Regions from separate parts of the Homo sapiens genome. Here all the other regions are linked to region 2. Evidence: promoter capture Hi-C in 16 types of primary human blood cells and fetal thymus (Javierre and others, 2016). All regions are on one chromosome and are shown on one strand. Each heading gives the region's core, a stretch centred on a gene start or on the middle of the fragment in contact. The rest is flanking DNA. Distances are from core to core; before and after follow the strand shown. Region 1 overlaps SMCHD1 (structural maintenance of chromosomes flexible hinge domain containing 1). Region 2 holds the start of METTL4 (methyltransferase 4, N6-adenosine). Region 3 overlaps SMCHD1 (structural maintenance of chromosomes flexible hinge domain containing 1). Region 4 overlaps SMCHD1 (structural maintenance of chromosomes flexible hinge domain containing 1).

The links. The method cuts DNA at HindIII sites, captures the fragments that hold promoters and counts their contacts. A CHiCAGO score of 5 or more calls a contact.
Region 1: a fragment that was not itself captured here is called in contact with the fragment with the promoter of METTL4 in region 2 in 10 of 17 cell types (total CD8 T cells, naive CD4 T cells, non-activated CD4 T cells and 7 more); the score reaches 13.4 in total CD8 T cells.
Region 3: a fragment that was not itself captured here is called in contact with the fragment with the promoter of METTL4 in region 2 in 8 of 17 cell types (activated CD4 T cells, non-activated CD4 T cells, naive CD4 T cells and 5 more); the score reaches 9.4 in activated CD4 T cells.
Region 4: a fragment that was not itself captured here is called in contact with the fragment with the promoter of METTL4 in region 2 in 1 of 17 cell types (neutrophils); the score reaches 5.0 in neutrophils.

What each region holds. Positions count from the first base shown.
Region 1 is chr18:2,730,280-2,733,902 of GRCh38, reverse strand. It overlaps SMCHD1 (structural maintenance of chromosomes flexible hinge domain containing 1), which reads right to left. Exons shown (of 48, transcript NM_015295.3): 25 at 1,411-1,638. Among named protein-coding and RNA genes, the nearest start is that of SMCHD1, 76 kb to the right of the region's middle. The HindIII fragment of the contact is 1,741 bases long and covers 1,314-3,054 here.
Region 2 is chr18:2,569,555-2,573,315 of GRCh38, reverse strand. METTL4 (methyltransferase 4, N6-adenosine) reads left to right here and starts at 1,811. Exons shown (of 9, transcript NM_022840.5): 1 at 1,811-2,167. It overlaps NDC80 (NDC80 kinetochore complex component), which reads right to left and starts at 1,759. Exons shown (of 17, transcript NM_006101.3): 1 at 1,633-1,759; 2 at 230-339. The coding sequence starts at 330. RefSeq lists enhancers at 1,754-1,913, 1,796-2,718. The HindIII fragment of the contact is 2,186 bases long and covers 1-2,057 here.
Region 3 is chr18:2,751,328-2,755,197 of GRCh38, reverse strand. It overlaps SMCHD1 (structural maintenance of chromosomes flexible hinge domain containing 1), which reads right to left. Exons shown (of 48, transcript NM_015295.3): 33 at 3,805-3,870; 34 at 2,646-2,710. Among named protein-coding and RNA genes, the nearest start is that of EMILIN2, 94 kb to the left of the region's middle. The HindIII fragment of the contact is 1,697 bases long and covers 762-2,458 here.
Region 4 is chr18:2,804,364-2,808,251 of GRCh38, reverse strand. It overlaps SMCHD1 (structural maintenance of chromosomes flexible hinge domain containing 1), which reads right to left. Exons shown (of 48, transcript NM_015295.3): 48 at 3,235-3,888. Among named protein-coding and RNA genes, the nearest start is that of EMILIN2, 41 kb to the left of the region's middle. The HindIII fragment of the contact is 507 bases long and covers 1,878-2,384 here.

The sequences.
Region 1 (3,623 bases), core at 935-3,434, 160 kb before region 2:
TCTCCAGACATGGAGGAATGCTTATTTCTAACTACCTCAAAAGCCTGGAATTTTGATAAATTATTTTTCCACACTTGGGAATTTTATCTCCATAGACATCAAGGGAAAAAAGTACAGTAAGTTCTGTTACAATGCTTACTTTGAAAATGTAAATTTGTTCCAGTACAATTACGTTTACTTTGAAAATGCAAATTTGTTCCAATACAACTATCAGTAAACAATTTAAGCATAAGGCAAATTTTACTTTTGCTTAGGTACAATTTCATCTATGAAAAAACTAGGTCAACATAGAAAACTGTACCCAGCTGAACCAAGTGGGAACACAACAAATGTTGCACCTCAAACACCTATCAGTCACCTCAGTTGACTATGTGTTAATGAGCCACGCTCATCCACAGACTGTTAAAACAACTTTCCCCTCACTTTCAGATAACCTTCCTTCCACCACTTCACAGGAACTCAAAAGCTGCAATCATTGCTTCATCAAGCTAGGTAACCTCCCATATTATTATAGTATTTATGTATTTCTTAACATTTAACATGTATTATCATTATTGTTTTTGCCACTATTTTATTAGGTTCTCTTAACGGGTTACTGAGAAAGTTTGAGTATTGTGCCTCTAGTTTCCATTTTCCCTCATAAGCCCTGTGATTTTTTATTGTACAATTTTGCACAGCAGAGTGATTCTGGAGAATGCATGTGTCTCATTATAGAAGAACAAACTGAACTTTGAAAGAAGCAAGCATAGACTGTCCACTATTCTTTCAGTCAACCATCAAAGGAATGCTAAAAAGCTGTCTACTTTATGTAATAAGACTTAACATTTTGATTTGGCTCCCTGTTCAGTGAGGTGTTAAGTTTCAACATGCAGACTCAACCCTATCAAGGTACAAATGTCATATTTAGATGACAGCAGGTTGATGAGGACCAACAAAACTCTTTTCTAAGGATCATATTTTTAGAGTGGTATACCAATTTCAATAATTTCCAATGGCCAAATAGAGGCTCTGTAGTTAACAACACTGTTTCACTGCTTGCCTTTAACAGATCTTTTGTTTAGTGCTTTCAGAACTGCTACCAATTTATTGCTAGCTTTATCAAGGTGGTGATGTTGATTATGATTGCAGAAAAACAGCTAGTCAGGAAGAGCACAACTAAACAAAATGCCAAAACCTAGATTTTTAAGTGTCAAAATCATTTTTCTAAGTATAATTTTGTCACATATGAATCATTTGCATTTCAACCTATTCCATGAAAAAAGCTTATTCTGCTTACAATTTGAAATGATAGTATAACTTTTCTGTGACAAGCTTCTTTTTTAGATGCTACCCATAAAACGGCTTGTTCAGTCTTACAAACATAAAATTTAAAAAGTTCTTACAAATAACCAATCTGTTAGAGATACTTACTTTAATTTTTTCTGCTAAAGCTGATGTTATATTGATTTCTCTTTCTCCTTCATCATACATTTGAAAAATAAGATTATGCATAATATCACCCGCTATCCAATTAACCTCATCCTGATGTTTGATCTGAATTGCCTTTTGTCCTTCTACACTGAATATTTGTAGTCTTGCAACATGGCTACTGGGAAGCAACTTAATAGTCTTCTCCACAGGTGCCACATCTTTACAACTCTAGAAAGAGAAGAAAACACAAACACTGAGTGATATCTGTACTGAAATTTTACACTCCTGAAGAATTTACTTTCAATATTATGGAAGACCATCTCATACATTGTTATACTCACAGGTTTTGTCATTAAGATGGCATTATACTATTAATAATTCCGTATTTTATACCATCAGGTTATAAATGGCAGTGGCCACATTCTTAAAATAAAAACAATTGTATGTGGACTAAAAGGATTCCCCTCCTTTTTATTTTTTTTGAGACAGAGTCTCACTTTGCCTCCTAGGCTGGAGGGCAGTGGCATGATCTTGGCTCACTGCAACCTCTGCCTTCTGGGTTCAAACTACTCTCCTGCCTCAGCCTCCAGAGTAGCTGGGATTACAGGCGCCTACCACCATGCATGGATAATTTTTGTATTTTCAGCAGAGATGGGTTTCACCACGTTGGCCAGGCTGGTCTCAAACTCCTGACCTCAGGTGATCCACTGGCCTCGGTCTTCCAAAGTGCTGGGATTACAGGCATCAGCCACTGCGCCCGGTCCCTTCCTCTTATTTCCAAGTTTCTTTAAAAGTATTGCCATCTTGTGAAATTTTAATTATGTTACATACTCTGTTAGTATTTATGAATAAGAACAAAGATGTAAGAAATTAAGAACTTTCCATAAAATCAGAGACAAACAGCTACCATAAAATACATTATTTAATGGTAACAGATTACATTAAGGCTTTCAGTATTTTTTCAATTCATAACACATTGGGGTAAGTGATCAAGGTTGTTTATAGCCAGAGAAGGCCTCTAGATGCCCTGAAGACAACTGGTCAACATATTGGCATATTTACAATTTATTATTGGCATACCAGTGTTCTACAGATCAAAGAAAAGACCAAGATTATGCTATATAAATTGATTTTAGGCACACAAAATTAAAATATTACATTATTTCATAATCTAGTTATAGTCCATTCAACAGCACACACTAAATTTAAAATAAGTTTAAACATAAAATACCTTTATAATCTTACTTAACTCATGTCTCCTTCCTCATCCAGTTGCAGCCATTTAACTTATGGAAGCCTATCCACGTGAGTGATATTAAAAATTCCTACCTCATGGAATGTCAGGCACATAACCATCTTCTGTTGTATCTTACTTGCCTTACTCCTAAACTCAGTTATTGCCATTGGATAACATTTTGTAACTGCCTATTAGAGGATTTACGTTGGCATTTGTTTTAACTGACCTGAATTCTTGGTCTTCTCCTGAGTGGTCTGTAGTATTTACAAAAGTCCTAATGCCTGCTGCTCTTGCCTCCAAGTCCAGATTCCTCCCTAATTCATAGTCATCTTTTGCAAGAAAGTGTGCTCAAAAGTATGTTGCCCATATTATTGCATAAAGAAAATGCATAAAAAATACTTTAAGCTTATCAAATATAACAAGCTTAAAAAGAACTGGAATGAAGAGTCATCTCATTCTAATTTAAAAAGTAAAAGACATCTTGTATCCATTTGAGGTTCAAGCTATGTTAATAACTGATGTATAATTAGTAGGAAAGTATGAGTTAATCAACCAATTAGATTATCTATCACCATATCAATTACTAAGAAATCACATTTAAGTATTTTACTTAAGTATCTGTTACCCTACTCAGCAACCTTTGAAGTTTTACTTAAGTATTTGTTATCCCACTCCACAACCTTAGATTGTTTACAGCTCTTGCCTCCATGTTGGCTTTGCTATCAGCCACGATGAATCACCAATAAAAAGCATCCTACTGGCACATGATATAGAAATCCCTTTGTGGGCCAGGCACGGTGGCTCACGCCTGTAATCCCAGCACTTTGGGAGGCCGAGGTGGGTGGATCACGAGCTCAGGAGGTCGAGACCATCCTGGCTAACACGGTGAAACCCCATCTCTACTAAAAATACAAAAAATCAGTCAGGCGTGGTGGCGGGTGCCTGTAGTCCCAGCTACTGGGGAGGCTGAGGCAGG
Region 2 (3,761 bases), core at 562-3,061:
TGGTAAAGCATTTGGCTTTGGAAATTTGTGAAACAAATGACACAAACAACACCTAGCAGAGTATCATGCCCACTTTTAGATTTCATTGATCCAAAATTAGGTACCCCTGGGAACAGACAAGATTCACCAAGACATCACTCATATTACATCTTTATATTAACTATTTCTTATGATTTCTTTGCCTAAGATGATAAAGCATGCAAATTAGAACCACAAGGGAAATACTCACGTTTGAGGGGTATAGAGGCCTTGTTTATTTACATCCTGGGATCTTAACTCCTGCATGGAGAGGCGGCCAGCACCACCGCTGGAAACTGAACTGCGCTTCATGCTTATGACCTACATTCACGAATTCAGTATTTAAAAAAAACTTTCCAGACAGAGATGGTACATTAAGCAACTATTTATCCTTAAACAGAAAGACAGTCAGGTTTCATTGTTTCTTCAAGATCATCATCTTTCCCCTGGGGTATCTCTTTTTTGTTCATGTACACTGAAGTTCTCATTTGCAAGGAACATCTATTTAATTCCATTTAAAAATATTCAACATAAACATTTATTAACTGCCCACTATATATATAGGGGAGTGTGCTAGGCAATGCAGGAGATGCAAAGACGAGTAAGTTACGGTTTTTGCCTTCACAAGGGTATCCGTGGTAGCTAAAGCCCTGTCTGTTACCCAGACCACATTACTGCTGTTGGCTGTGCCTATTTCAATAGGAAGACAAAAAAATTACCTCAAATTCTCTTATTCACCTCAAAATGTTTCCTTTTCTTTGGTTTCAGAGAATGGAATTATTCTGTTTTCCTAATGTCAATCTCTCCTGCTCTGTCCTTAACCCATTGTTTCCTCAATTACTGCCCTTTTGGCATCAATCTCCCCTTCAACAAGGATAAATCATCCGGTCCATAAAATGGTCTATAGGCTGCCTCCATTTACAAACCACATTAACAGGTCACTCCCTTCACATCTGCTAAAAAATTTGTCTCCTAGGATACACATGATTGACAAAACTTTTGATCCTGTCTCATCTCTGCACCCAGCCTTCTCAGGTCCTGCCCTGGCTTTCAGGAAGGTGACAATCCTTTTACTTCTCTGGGTACTCCTTAGTCTTTTACACTGATTAGACTCTTCTTGATTTTGGCCGCCTATTTCCTCTTCAATATGCGCTTGTTCATCTATTCAACTTTTCCACTCACACCTGTGTGTCCACGTTTAATCTCCACTTAGAATGTAGCTCTCATGATTTAAGATGAAGACTTCTACACGCAGTCCTACACGGCCATAAGAAGCTACACTAGTATTCAGACGCAACCCACCCAACGAGTCCTCTCTTGTCCATCTCTTTCCGCCCCCTTCAATTCTTCCCCGTTTCCTCTCCCGAGCCTCCACTCCTCATCAGTGTCCCCCAGGCCCTCCCCTTTCCTCCTTGGGAAATCGTTGCCACTAGAAATTTAATAGATCCCGTGAAACCAGCGCCTCGCACAGTTTTGGCCTCGAGGCTTCTCCCAACAGCAAACAAACACCAAAACATCGCCTCAGGACCTCTAAATTTAAGTCATTGGCGCCATCACTTTCTTCCTCCAGAACAGCTCTGCAGAAACAAAGTTAATCCGATGTCATTCAGTCACCTTTTTTCCAGTTTCCTGACACGACCCAGGGACCGAATTTCTGTAAACCGTGCAAGTATCTGCTAGACAGGACAGCGGTCATCAAAACACCAGGTCCTTCCTCGGCCCGCCAAAGCCGTTCGAATTTGAAATTCTCCGCCGGCGCTGACGTCATTACGCACGACGCGCGCAGTAACTTCCATGCGACCGCCTCGTCGCTGGAAGGCTGCGTGCTGGTCGCGCCCAGCTGCGTCACCCCAGGAACTGGGGTCTGTGGGCCAGTGTGGCCGTCTCTACGAAGACTGGCACGACCCCTAAAGTTAGGTCGGAAGACCTGTGGGCAGCTTGAGCGCCGAGGAGTGCCCTGAACGCTCAACTCGCCCTGGAAACGTTTTTCCGTACAGCAACATGGCGGCGCCCATGGACTCTTAGAAAAGGAGAAAGCTTTTTCTCTGTGGACTGGAAGGGGCATTTTTCATGATCACTATTTAGATGGGTGCTGTTTTCATGAGGAGAGTCTGGGAAGGCGGCGTCCGCTTTTCTGACAAGGGAAGAGGTGAGGTGGGAGAGGGGCTGCGGAGTGGGTGGAATGGGCTCCCAGGATTGCGTTGGTACGGCTGCCGAAATTCGGGCTCAGTATTTGATCACTTGCCGGAGGCTCACGGTCCTCTGGTGGTGGCTGACCTGTGAGAGGCTAGGAAGAATCCAAGTGTTTGGGGGCGGGCGGCGAGGGAGTGGATGTGAAGCAGAGACGCAGGAGAGGGGTGCACTAACAACAGTAACAGTAGATCACTTTGCTAAAATAGGATTTCCTCGCTGCTGTGAGTTTGAATCCAGAAACAGGCACTGCCCGGTACCTGGAGAGTGGTGGTGATGAAAGATCTCACAGCTCCAGGAAGTCTGGATACTTGGGTCTGGTAGCAATTGTGCCATTAACTAGCGTTGTTATTTTTGGGCAGCTTGCCTTTCTGCTCTGAGTTTCAATTTTCCCGTCTGAATTTCTAGCTCTCACTAGCCATTCCAGGACCCTTTTCACCTCAGCTGTGGCCTATGAAGGGGATGGGGAGGAACCAAGGATTATATTAATATAAAAATTATATGAAAATTAGGCAACCGTCTGATAATAAAAAGTCTCCTTGTGGAATACTGTTAGGTTAAACTTTACCTACAGATTGTTAAATCCTTAGCACTAATGTTTTCCCCAGAAAAGATTAATGGAAACATCATTTGCTTTTCTGACTAGATAGTTGCTGCTTCCAAAGGTGGTTTTACACAAATACAAAATTAAAAACACCTTTAGTACAGAAATAATTGCTTGTATTTCGGTATACATTCACAGTACAGTTCAGCATTTAGTGGTCCTGCTAGCAATTTGCCAGGAAGTCAAGCCTGCCAATTTCCTGATATTCCTGCTGTGCACCCCAACTTCTTAATCCCTGCTGAGGATCTTGAGAAGCAGCAGCACCAAAACCAAAGTAGGCACCAAATTCAAGGTTCTTTTGGTTCCGGTTGTCACATTTCAAGCTAGACTCCAATAGATGGAAGGATGATCACATGTGAGCCCTGTTTAAAACTTCAATTTTTAAGAGCAAGCACAATTGCAGGAAAAGAAAACAATTCAGAGGGATCATGTGTGCTTACAGTTGTCTTCATGTGGCCTTTTCCCAGGTTTAACCACCAAGGACCCTGACAGCCGGGGTGTCTGAATAACCCTGGTGACTCTTTTCACCATATCAAAACCTGAGTTAAAAGGCTGATGATAACAGCAGAAGGTGGCAGGGCTGAGGACCCACTATTAATTTCCTAGGCTGGTGGAGAGTGAATAAATGTTCTTCCAACCTTACCTTATGGCTTCTGGTCAAAGCAAAGAAGTGTCGTGGAAAGTGTTGGGTGGTGACAGTGCAAAAAGAGACTTGACGGGGAGGGAGCAGCATCTCTTGATAAAGGTGGGGAAGAGAAGATATGGGGAAAGCCCTGAATTCCTCATGGAAGGCGAATCTCAGAGGGGAGCGGAGCAGAGGGCTTATGATCTGTGCTTTGGCCAAGGGTGGGAGTGGAAGAGGTGGGGACAGGACAGTGGTTTGGAAGGAGCATCACTGAATACTTAAACTGAGTGCCCACACACTCAGCAGTGGTCCCACAGGCTGTGA
Region 3 (3,870 bases), core at 361-2,860, 180 kb before region 2:
CTGTAGTCCCAGCTGCCTGAGAGGCTGAGGTAGGAAGATTGCTTGAGCCTGGGAGGTCAAGGCTACAGTGAGCCATGATTGCACCACTGCACTACAGCCTGGGTGACATAGTGAGACCCTGTCTCTAAATTAATTAATTAATTATTTAAAATAAGAAATGAAGGAGTTTAACAAAGATAACTGCTACAAGGTCAATATACATAAATCAATTGCATCTCTCTAACCAAAAACAACAGAAAATAAAAATGTTTTAGGAGATATCATTTACGATGGACCTCATGTGATCTGCCTGCCTCTGCCTCCCAAAGTGCTGGGATTATAGGTGTGAGCCACCGCACCTGGCCTCACACTATACATTAAAAAAAAAAAAAATCAATTCCACGTATAACTGTATAAAAAGAACACAGCAAACCTAAAGTGCTATCCTTAGAAGCACTTGTCTGCTTGCAAGATGGGCCCTTCGCAGACATCTGTGAGTTTAGATTTCAGGAGGGTTCTCACCTTTAACTGATATGAGTGGCTCACATTGCCTAAACCACTGCACTAATATGGTTTATGCTACACACTTGCTTTTCTTCTGAAAATCTGGTATTTGCTAGGCAGAGGCTGCCTATGTGACCACACCCTAACAAAAACCCTGAATGCTGAGTCCCCAGTGAGCTTCCCTGGTTGACAACATTTTATACGCATTGTCACAATTTATTGTTGGGGAATTAAGCACATACTCTGTGACTTCACCAAGACAGAATCCTTGGAAAGCTTCCTCTGTGTCTGCTTTCCCTTGGACATCACCCCATGAGCTTTTTACCTTGCTCATTTCACTTTGAATCCTTTTGTTTCAATAAAACATAGCTATGAGCCCAGCTATATATTAAGTCCTGTGAGTCCTCCTGGTGAATCATCAAACCTGGCATTGGTATTGGGAACCCCCAACACAATAATATAGTAAAATGTGTTGATGACCTAAATGTAAGGAAAGACTTAAACAGGACACAAAGAAGATCAACTATAAAAAAGATGATTAACACATTTGCTTATATAAAAATTAACCACTGCTGTTCAAGATATCATAAAATGAGAAAGCAAGCCACAGGATAGGCAAAGATGTCTAAACAAAAGGCTTGTATCTCTAATATATAAAGAACTCCTACAAATTAATATAAAAAATAATACAAAAGTTATTAAGATACTCAAAAAAGGCACTTCACAAAAGGTAATCTAAGTGGCCAATAAATATATGATAAACAGGGAAATGCAAATTAAGAGTAAGTGTGATGCCACTCTATTACATGTCCACCAGAAGATTACACCTGAAAAGACCCACAAAACCGTGTTGGGAAGGGCCGGGCACGGTGGCTCATGCTTGTAATCCCACCATTTTGGGAGGCTGAGGTGGGCAGATGGCTTTGAGCTCAGGAGTTCGAGACTAGCCAGAGCAACTTGGTGAAACCCAGTCTCCACACACACACAAAATAAATAAATAAATAAATTTGCTGGGCATGGCAGCACATTCCTGTAGTCCTAGCTACTTGGGAGGCTGAGGCAGGGGGCTCGCTTGAGCCAGGGAAGCAGAGGTTGCAGTGAGCCACTGCACTCTAGGCATTGCACTCTAGCAAGGCTATGTATTAAAAAGAAATAAACCCTCAAGCTACTCAAGTTAAACACACACATCTATGTTTAACATCTATATTTAACATCTAACATACACATCTATATTTAAATATACACATCTATGAACTTATGACCCAGCAATTTTACTTTTATATGAGCACCAGTGTTATAAAGATTATTTGTAATAGCCCAAAATTGAAAATGCAAATAGCCATTAACAGAATGGAAAATAGTAGTGTGTTCACACAATGGACTTCTATACAGCAATGGAAATGAATGAATTTATAGCTATATGCCACAGAATCTCATGATGCTGAGTGAAAGAAGTCTTATGCAAAGGAAAATAATTGTATATCAAGTTCAAAAATGGGCACAACTAAATCAGAGACTATAGAGATGTATGCTAAGATAAACGGAACTCTAAATAAGACCAAATCAGGAGAGGGTTTGTGGTGTGTGCATGTGTGTGTCTACATGAGTGTGTGCATGGCATGCACAACAGGAAGGAAGACGGTAATAACTGGAAGAGGTAAGGGGTGGAGCTTCCATGATTGGTCCTTTACCAATTAGTCTGAAAAAGCACTGAACAAATATAATGAGCATTTTGACCCTATTGATGATAAAGGATTTGTAAAGAAACTTAACACATAATGTTTTTAGATTTGAAAATGGAGGTCCAGAATGAAGCAGCAACATGCTCAAAGTCACAGAAATGTTAAAAGCCAGTCTAATCTTTATAGAAACCTCCTATATAATAAGAAGTTATAAAGTGCCCTGACAACATAAAAGAATTCTTCTGATGGCTTCGATAGTTTCAAAAGCAAATACAATTACAATTTACAAAGCTTAAAACCAATTTAATGCTTAAAAACGAAAACACACCTTTTCCCAAAAAACTGAGAAAAATTTAGAGACACTAACATTTCTATTTGATCATAAATTACTTTTCCTCAGGTGAGCCCACATATATCTCCAGGGTTGAATTACTTTGTAACAAGATATGTATTCAAAATATGAAATGTTTTGAGAAATACCTGAAATAGAAGCAGCCATCTTCTTTGTCATTATCTTTTATTTTATTACAACTAAATGTTTCTGCCTAGAAAGGGGAGTAGGAGAGAAGGGGAGAGGGGAAAATGACAAAATTTAACATAGTATACTTAGGAGGAAAGCTTATTATATACCTAAACTGAATGTGTATCTGGATTCCATTTATAAACATACAGGTATATATACACACGTTTATATCTTCATAATACATGTAAGGTACAATGTGAGATTAGTGACAGTGGAAAGACACCCCATTATTAAAAGACACACAGTAGAACTTTATGGTGATATTATTTAAAGATAATACCAACTTGATTGGACTGATGGTCTAAATTAAGCAAGCAAAGATTCAGGATTAATTAAGCAAGATAGTTTCCAAAACCAATGATTAAAATGAACCATAAATGTTGAAGTAGATTATTATATCAGGACACTGATAAACTTTAGTTCCCAATTTTAGATTTATTTCAGATCTGCATTATCCAATATGGTAGCCAATGGCTATGTGTGACTACTGGGCACTTGAAATGTGGCTGGTCTGAACTGATATACAGTGTAAAATAAACACCAAATTTCATAGACTTGGTAAGATAAAAGAACGTAAAATCCTAGCAATAATTTTTAAACTATTGAATATATGTTGAAATGGTAACTTTTGATATATTAGGTTAAAAACATTAGAATTTTACTTATTTCTTTTTAGCTTTTAAATGTAGCTACTAGAAAGCAGAAACACCAGGTATGATCTTTCCACTGGACAGCACTGTTCTAGACCCTCTAACTCTCCACTCTCTTTCAAGCAGTCTATCAATCCTATCTCTTTACTATCTCATTTTCTATATTATCCCCTCATATTTAATAGCTTCTGCCTTGTGCTACTGTCCTTCAGATGAAATAATTTTAATGTGTAGGCATCTTAAAATGTTAAGAAACATCACAATGTAGACTACTCTTTTTCAATAGCATCAATCTTTAATTTTGAAACATACATTGATGTAATTTCTTTAACCCCAAAGGAATGAAGTAAATTCACTTCCATTTCTCAAATTTATATAACATTATATATTTACATTAAAGGAGACTTAGTTTTAAGTTAAATGTAAGAACTATTTTTAACTTCAAAAAATGCTTCCCATGACTCACATTTGCTGGGGGTCGGTTCCCACTGGTAGACAGCTTCCACATTTTCATGGAAATACGTGCTGGATT
Region 4 (3,888 bases), core at 882-3,381, 230 kb before region 2:
CTTAACCATGTCTTCATATACATAGCCTATTATAGCTTTGCTCCCACCCACTTGAGTGATGTTATTGGCAAAAATATTATGCACAGATTACATTTTATATATTATAGGCCCAACAATATATTTTATACATATTATTTTATACAACTGCATTTCAAATCAACTAAGAAAAAAAGAACAAATATGCATTAATAGTGTCAATTACATAACTACCTTTTCTGGTGCCCTTTGTGTGGATTTAAATGACCATTTCAGGTCATTTTGTTTTTTTTTTTGTTTGTTTCTGTTTTTTTTGTTTTTGTTTTTTTCCTGAGACAGAGTCTTGCCCTGTCACCCAGGCTAGAGTGCAATGGTGCGATCTCGGCTCACTGCAACCTCTGCCTCCTGGGTTCAAGCAATTCTCCTGCCTCAGCCTCCCAAGTAGGTGGGATTACAGGTGCCCGCCACCACGCCCAGCTAATTTTTTGTATCTTTAGTACAGACAGAGTTTCACCATGTTGGTTAGGCTGGTCTTGAACTCCTGACCTCGTGATCCACCTGCCTCGACCTCCCAAAGTGCTGGGATTACAGGCGTGAGCCACCGTGCCCAGCCTGGTCATTTCATTTTCAACCTGAAGAATTTCCTTTAGTGTTTCTTCTGACGTGGGCCTGCTTGCAACTTTGGAGTTGCAATGAATTGTTTATCTTGCAATGAATTGTGTTTATCTAGGAAAGTATTTTTCCTTCATTTCGACAATAGCTTTGCTGGGGATGGAATTATTGATAGTTGTTTTTCCTTAGAGCACTTTGAAATGATAACCCACTGCCATATGGTCTCTATTGTTTTTGCTGAGAAGCTGTTAATCTTATTGGGGCTGTCTTTGTAAGAGATGTGTATTATACTTTTATTCCTGCTGCTTTCAAGATTTTTTCCTTGTCTTTGACTTTCAGAATTTGATGTGTCTATCTGTTGGTCTCTTTGTGGTCATCCTGCTTGAAATTTGTTCAGCTTCCTGGATGTATAGATTATTGTATTCTAATAGTTTTCAGCCATTATGTATTTGAATATTTTTCCTACCTTCTGTGTCATTAAGTGCACATTGCTGCACTTAATGGTGTTCCACATTTCTCTGAGGCTCTATTTTCTTCATTGCCTTTTCTCTCTGTTTTTACATAATCTCTACAATCTGTCTTCAAATTCACCTATTCTCTCTTCTGCCAGTTCAAACCTACTGTTAAGCCCCCTGGTGAATTTTAAAATTTCAGTTATTGCACTTTCTAACTCCAGAATTGCCACATGGTTCTTTAAACATTTCTCTCTCTCTCTATATATATATATCTCAATTATATATACACACACACATAATTTCAACTTTTATTTTAGATATACGGGGTACACATGTGTGGGTTTGTTACATGGGTATATTGCACCCAGGTAGCGAGCACAGTACCCAATAGGTAGTTTTTCAACCCACTCCCACCTCCTCACCCCAGCAGTCCACAGTGTCTATTGTTCCCATGTTTATGTCCATGTGTGCTCAATGTTGAACACCCCCTTATAAGTGAGAACATGCGGTATTTGGTTTTCTGTTCCTGTTAGTTTGCTTAGGAGATATTCTTTATTTGATGAGACACTGTCATAATGTTTACTTCTTTAATCTTTTGTTTAGTTCTGTGAATATATTTATTTATAATGGGTACTTTAATTTTTGGTTAAATCTGACATCTGATCACTCTCACAGGCAGTTTTTGCTGCCTGCTTTATTTCCAGTGTATGAGTCACACTGTTTCTTTGCATGCCTCATACATTTTTGTTGGAAACTGGACATTTTAAATAACATACTGTAGTTACTCTACTAGTTCACCTCCCTCTGGTTTGGTTATTATTATTTGCTTAAGCTTAGTGCCTGGATGGATTATTTTAGTGAAGTCTATCCTTCCCTAATCCCAACAGCGTTGTTTCTCAAGTTCTTCCTCAGGGAGGCACAGCTTTTGGTATGCCCCAGAAATCCTGCGTACTCTCGCGCACTTTTTCCTCTTGACCATATACCCTGTTGTTCAACTCCACTAATTGCTGGCTTACTGTTCTATTGTTTACACTAGTGTAGTCTTTGCAGTCTCACCCTTAAAAGCAGCCTGCCCTGAATCCTTTCTCTCAGGGTGTACTGTCTATCCTGCACTTAACTTTCAAAATATTCTTTCTCCTTTACAATAAATTACTCTATGTTGCACTTCTTTTGCTGTGTGTCTCGAGCTCTCTAGTTTAAACTTCTCATGCTCTTTTTTTAAAAGTCAGTTCCTTTGGAAAGAGATTAAGAGCTACCTGTTTTGTTTTCATCCTACCTCATTTGCAGGCAAAAATCTCTGAGCCAGGGATCTGGAGCTAGAGGTGGGGACAATGGCAAGCTTGAGTTGGCATTCTAGCTCTAGAAGCTGAGTGCAATGGAAGGGGGCAGTAGCCTGAGATCCTCTTGGCTTGCTTTTCCTGGGGTAGAATCCTACTTCACGAGCCAGAGAGTTATCAAGGCCCCAGCAATCTCAGCACATGTGTTCAAGGTTTTGTGGCCTGGTGGGGAGAAGACGGCTCTCACCTGGCCACACTGACCCAGGACTTAGTGCTAGCAAAAGGCAGTTGAAGGCAGGACAAGAATCACTACAGTCTCGCTCCTTTCGGGAAAAAAATTTCTGGCTGGGAGATGGTGGGATAAGGAACCCAGCGTTTTTGGCTGCGTTAGTCTGCTTGCTGAGCTTGGAGGTGGAAGTGAGTAGTCAGTCTTGGTTCAAACTACCACAGATTCTCATCTTCCTTACTGAATTTTTGTAAATGTTCTTGAATAGATGTTTCTTCATTGCCATTTGTCCTCAGGACCATTTCCAGAAGTTTTAAATGGTTGTTTTTAATATTTTTCACCAGTTTCACAGTATGAAAATTAAACATTCAATTTTTTTACTAAAATGTATTATTTGAAAATTCTATACTAAAAATACAATGGAATTAACCCCATCAATTTCATAATGACTATAAAGTAATCAAGTCACAGAGCCAAAGTATAGACAGTTTAGAAGACTGAACTTTCCTTAGCACTAATATTTAACAATAGGAGCCAATTTCACTTAAAATAATCTGAATGTTATATATGCAACAAATTTTAGTCTCTGTAAAGAATCTTATACCAAAAACCCTATAAAAATGTTAAGTAAATTGAGCCTATTTTTACCATAGGCCTGGCCAAATGTACACATGAAAACTGATGAACGTAATGTGCAAAAAGGCTTGGAGAGAGTTTTATTTCAGTTACTTCAAAATACAAGTAGGCTATTATTTTCCTTTGGAAGAAGAAACCAGAAAAAAAACTTCCTGATTGTAACATTGTGACAAATTTCAGATTATATAACACATAACACAGGATAAATGGCTGTAGCATTAATTTTTTTCTCCAGTTACATTCCTTTATACTAAAAGACTAGTATTAAATCTTAGAAGAAAATTTCAATTGTTCTTACGTGTTACATATTAAACACAAAAGCAATTTATTATTATTTGGTACAACATGAACCTCAGTATTTGCTCAAATGTAGAAAAGGATTCCTTAATATGCTGAGAAATATCCTTAGATAAATCCAACTGTGAAAATATAGAAAAACTCCTTACTGTAATTACTGGGAACCACAAAGTTAATTTTTACAGGGTAGAAAAACTCCACAAAAATGGAGATTCATACTTAAAAACCTTCTTTTACTGATAGAACATTCTTTCTGGTATTATAAAATGAACAAAAGTGTACAGATATGGGCTTGGGGCTAGATAATATCCATAGAACTCGCCATTTTAAGCAATAAAAATTGGCATGTGGGTGCATGCCTGTAATCCCTGCTACTTAGGAGGCCAAGGCAGGAAGACTGCTTGAACCC